Regions from separate parts of the Homo sapiens genome. Here region 1 is linked to region 2. Evidence: promoter capture Hi-C in 16 types of primary human blood cells and fetal thymus (Javierre and others, 2016). All regions are on one chromosome and are shown on one strand. Each heading gives the region's core, a stretch centred on a gene start or on the middle of the fragment in contact. The rest is flanking DNA. Distances are from core to core; before and after follow the strand shown. Region 1 has its middle 14 kb from the start of PAFAH1B1. Region 2 holds the start of METTL16 (methyltransferase 16, RNA N6-adenosine).

The links. The method cuts DNA at HindIII sites, captures the fragments that hold promoters and counts their contacts. A CHiCAGO score of 5 or more calls a contact.
Region 1: a fragment that was not itself captured here is called in contact with the fragment with the promoter of METTL16 in region 2 in 1 of 17 cell types (endothelial precursors); the score reaches 5.5 in endothelial precursors.

Annotation. Positions count from the first base shown.
Region 1 is chr17:2,578,474-2,581,173 of GRCh38, reverse strand. No RefSeq gene overlaps it. Among named protein-coding and RNA genes, the nearest start is that of PAFAH1B1, 14 kb to the left of the region's middle. The HindIII fragment of the contact is 2,234 bases long and covers 177-2,410 here.
Region 2 is chr17:2,510,439-2,513,138 of GRCh38, reverse strand. It overlaps METTL16 (methyltransferase 16, RNA N6-adenosine), which reads left to right and starts at 1,251. Exons shown (of 10, transcript NM_024086.4): 1 at 1,251-1,380. RefSeq lists enhancers at 1,051-1,100, 1,171-1,380. The HindIII fragment of the contact is 19,706 bases long and covers 1-2,700 here.

The DNA of each region.
Region 1 (2,700 bases), core at 44-2,543, 68 kb before region 2:
CTTAACTAACACTGACATCCAAGCTAAGCTACCAGGACTGCATGCAAATATAAAACTCAGAGATGATCCTGGCATAAAAAGAAATGCCTGTTCTGGGACCTTAAAATTAGGCTTCTTAATGAAATTAACAGCTGTTTGAAAAACATCTCTCTGCTTGTTTACAAAGATCACAAGCTTTGCCAGGGTATCTCAGGATTGTTTTAAGCGTCCCCAGGGATCCTGGGAGCCCCATATTGCTTTTCTCATTTAGACGCTTACCCAGTGGTTGGAAGAATCCAAGCAAGATGCTTTCAGCTAAACATTGCAGTGTCCTCGGCAAAAAGGAGGGCCAGTGTTAGCTCTGTGACAATTCCCTGTTTTCCCAAACCATGAATCAGCCCCATTGTCTCACCCGCCTCTGTGCATCATTCATTCTGTTCATCCCAGCTAACGGCAAAGGCAGGAACATGGCAGAGAAACTAAAACTCCTATTTAATTCTGCTGGTAAAGAGAGTCAGGATTTCTCATGGGCTGCTTTGGAGAAATGTCTGGAAATGTGTCAGAAAGCTGATTTTATGGAAGGTTCATTTATTTACAGTAAACTTAAATGTACTATAAATTCCTAATTTACAAACAAATACCTGGCAATTGACCAGCATTTTTCATCCGAAGGTAAGAAGCCTCCAAATGTGAATATATAAGCATTTTCTGGCACGATATCATGTCAGTTTTTTTCCTCCCCTCCTCCACTGCCTTTTCTTCCTCCCAGTTTCTCCTCTCTGCTCCTTCCCAGCTGGAAACAAATGATAGTTTAACCTGGATAATACCCTCCCTTGTTCACTTTGTATAGCTAATGTTCACTCAGCTGGCCTAAACCTTTCATGCGATTTATTTTATAAGGAACAGAAGAGGGGAGGATTCCGTCTCTGGCTCACAGCACCCATTGCCAAGAAAGTCAGCTCTGCTTCTCAGTCCCCATGGGCTGGGTCCAAGACTTGTCTTTCTACTCCATGATAACTCTTTTTACCTCTATTGTGGTAGGTAGGACTCTTTGGTTCTAAAGAACAGAAACCCATTTGAGTGAGCCTAAGGGAAAAAAAAAGGGCAGTTTTGAAAGGATAGAGAGGTGCTTTCATAGCACTGATGGACAGGTATGCAGCAGGGTCCTGAAAGCATCTGGAACCAGGACCAGCAAAGCAATCTTTGTCATTTCTTTTCTTTTCTTTTTTTTTTTTTTTTGAGACGGAGTCTTGCTCTGTTGCCCAGGCTGGAAAGCAGTGACACGATCTCGGCTCACTGCAACCTCTGCCTCCCGGGTTCAAGCGATTTTCATGCCTCAGCCTCCCAAGTATATGGGATTACAGGCATGGGTCATTATGCCTGGCTAATGGCTCACACCTGTTATCTCAGCACTTTGGGAGGGTAAGGAGAGCTGATCACTTGAACCCAGGAGTTGGAGACCAGGGCTAGCAAAACCCCAGCTCTTTGAAACAAAGACAAAAATTAGCTGGGCATGGTGGTGTGCACTTGTAGTCCCAGCTACTCGGGAGGCTGAGGTGGGAGGATTGATTGAGCCCAGAAGGTCAGGGCTGTAGTAAGCTGTGATCCTGCCGCTGCACCCCAGCCTGGGAGATAGAGCAAGAGCCTATCTCAAAATAATAATAATAATAATAATAATAATAATAATAATAATAATAACTTTAAAAATATAGTAAACTGCCTATTTTCCAAAGTGGCTGTACCCTTTTCACATTCCCACTTGCAATGTATATGTATGAAACTTCCAGTTATTCTGTATCCTCTACAACATTTCGTATTATGAATTTATTTAATTTAATTAATTAATTTATTTATTTTGAGACGGAGTCTCGCTCTGTCACCCAGGCTGGAGTACAGTGGCAAAATCTCGGCTCACTGCAAGCTCCGTCTCCCGGGTTCACACCATTCTGCTGCCTCAGCCTCCCGAGTAGCTGCGACTACAGGCACCTGCCACCATGCCCGGCTAATTTTTTTCGTATTTTTTTAGGAGAGACGGGGTTTCACCGTGTGAACCTCGTGATCCGCCCGCCTTGGCCTCCCAAAGTGCTGGGATTACAGGCATGTGCCACCACGCCCGGCTTATTTTTATTTTAACCACTCTAATAAGTACGTGGTGGTATCTCATTATGGTTTTAATTTGCACCCGATGGCTAATGACATTGAACTTTTTTTCATGTACTTGCCATCTTTTTCTCTTACCTAGTGGAGATCTATTTATATATTTTGCCCACTTTTTTCCTTTTTTTAATTTTTAATAGAGATGGGGGGAGGTCTCACTATGTTGGCCAGGCTGGTCTCGAACTGTTAGCCTCAAGTGATCTGCCCGCCTCAGCCTCCCAAAGCACTGGGATTACAGATGTGAGCCACCACACCCAGCCCCGGATACAAAGCTTTTATCAGATGTGTGTTTTTAAAATATTTTCTTTCAATTTGTGTCTTGTCTTTTCATTTTCTTAACAGTGTTTTTGGAGGGCAGAGGTTTTCATTTATTGAGTCTAATTGAAACATTTTTTACGGTTCATGTTTTTTGTGTGTCTTATCTATGAAATTTTTGCCTGTCCATAAGTTATAAATATTTTCTTCTGAAAGTTTATAGCTTTAAGTTTAAATTTAGGGGTATGATTCATTTCAGGTTCATTTTTGTATATGGTACACATTATGGATCATGGTTCCCTTTCTTAC
Region 2 (2,700 bases), core at 2-2,501:
CAGCTACTTGGGAGGCTGAGGCAAGAAAATCGCTTGAACCCAGGAGGCAGAGGTTGCATGCAGTGAGCCGAGATGGCGCCATTGCACTCCAGCCTGGGCAATAAGAAACTCCATCTCGGGGGAAAAAAAAAATGTCATCCTACTCTGCTAGACAAATTACATGGAAAGGCCACGTGGACAGGGAGAGAACTTGGACTACAGGGAGAGAGACCCAGTTCTTTCAGCGGAACCAGCCCCCACTTGTTGCTATGACCACTGGCAAGACCAGCAGAACGGGTGGGCTAATCCCAGCCCAGATTGCAGAACTGTGAGCAAGTAAAATGGTGGTTGTTTTAAGTCTTACGTTTTGGGGCGGTTTGTTACACAACAGATTATGAAAACACCTCCTCAGCTTTCCTTGGGTGACTACTGGTACTCACTTGTGTATAAGTCTCCATTCCTTAATCCTTACTATCTCCCAATTTTATGGTAATAGTTTGCCAGAAGCGTTCACATTAACGACGAGGACGTAGGCAGGCCCCCCCTTTTTTTTTTTTTTTTGAGACAGAGTCTTGCTCTTTCGCTCAGGCTGGAGTGCAGTGGTGCGATCTTGGCTCACTGCAACCTCCGCTTCCCGGATTCAAGCGATTCTCCTGCCTCAGCCTCCCGAGTAGCTGGGATTACAGGCGCCCGCCACCACGCCCGGCTAATTTTTGTATTTTTAGTAGAGACGGGGTTTCACCATGTTGTCCAGGCTGGTCTTGAACTCCTGACCTCAGGTGATCTGCCCGCCTCAGCCTCCCAAAGTGCTGGGATTACAAGCGTGAGCCGCCGCGTCCGGCCGGATCCTCAGTTCTTTCGCTGTAAACGAGAGTACTCTTCCCCAACCCACAGGCTTATATCTCTTACAATTCAGTGAGTGAGACATCGGCTGAGGACACACCTGTTGCACAAAAAGGGCTCACTGCACGCCATCACACCCAAGTCTCGTACCCTCATCTTCATAACCTGCCCAATCCCAGTGAGTGTGAGAGGTAAGTCTGCAGCAGGGCCCGGAAAACTTGTTTCTTTTTCTTTTAAATAAGTTTTCTCGCGAATTCGAACGCATGTCCTCCTCCTGCCATACCTCAAAGGACTCCGCTCGTCACCACGCCCCCGCGCCTTCTGTTAGGAGCAGCAAACCCCAGGTGTCGCGAGGGTTTCTTCTTTCTTCAAGATCAGCCACAGGTCGCGCGAGAGGGATGTGTCCAATCACGAGGCTAGATGGCTTCACAAGATGGCGGCGCGCTGGGAGCGTATCATCTGCGTTTCTAGGAGCTTCGCTATGCGGCTGCTTTAAGATTCTAGGGTTGTACAGGCCCACGCCAGACACGACGTCTGGCAGGAACCTCGGCCTCAGAGGTGGGTCACTTATATCTCTCACGCAGATTTACTATCATGGGTCACTTAACCCGTGGATCACACGGGTTCCTCATTCTTGAGTTTTGGGCTAGTGAGGTGCCGACTTCGGGGTCTAGGAGGGGAGACCTGATGTGGCTGTGTGTGCGCACGCGGGGGTGTTGAGAGTGGATGAGTGGGAGGAGTTGGCGAATAGAATAGAGACTAGGACTGAAGTAGGAAAGACTCCCCGGTGTTTAGGAGGTTTAGAGAGATCCAAAACTGAGGCGGGAAGACAAACTGAGCTGATAAAATGAGGGCATGGAAAGAACGGCAGTGGCAGGACTAGTGGGAAACGTCGGATTTATGAGAGAAGGCGAAGAGAGAAGATGTAGATTGGTGTGGAAGTGGGAGGGATCTGTGCAGAAAGAATTTGAAGTTCTGAAATTGGAATTTAGACTGTTTTACAGGCTGTGTATCAAGAGAGTGGTAGTTGAAGAGGGTTAATGGTCAAGAGGAACCAAGGAAACAGAAGCATGGAGATGAGAAAGAAAAAAAAAAAAAGGGAAAGCCTCATTCTCAGGGTTCTACTATTAACTGTGGCTTTCTGGACTGACTCAAGTAACCGGGAAGAAAAGTTCCAGTCCATGGGCTGAGCTTTTTTTGAAACTCAGTGAGGGTGCTTTGTGTCGGTGGTCCAGACAGGGAAGAGTTCTATCGTGGTTTCAATCAACAAATACTTGAGTGCCTACTCTCTTAGGCCCTATTTTAGGCGTTGGGATATGCGGTGAACAAGACAGACAAAATATTTACCCTCTTGAAACTTACTGACGGGAGATTTTTTAAAGTAAGTAAAATATATGGAATGCCAGATGGGTAAATTCTGTGTAGAAAATTGAAGCTAGAGCCTGGGTAGCAAAGCCAGACTCCCTTTCTACAAAAAATGAAGTAAATTAACCAGGTGCAGTGCTCTGTACCTGTAGTCCCAGCTGCTTGGGAGGCTCAGGCGGGAGGATTGCTTGATCTCAGGAGTTGGAGGCTGCAGGGAGCTATGATTCCATCATTGCACTCTGGGCAACAGAATGGAAGACCTTGTCTCAACAAGAAGAAAAAAAAAAGAATTGATGCCCAGTTAAACTCTGAAGAATAGGTTATATTTAGCTAAGAACTCATTGCCTATATTGGGAGGTTAGTTAGAAAAGAAGTGGTTGTATTTACTCATTCTGTATCTGTTCTGACCAGAAAAGTTGAATAATGTAGGAAATGAATCGAATCTGCCATGTCTGTAATTTAATTTGTTTCACATATATTCAGAGTATTATGTTGTGTGTGCACTGATGTCAG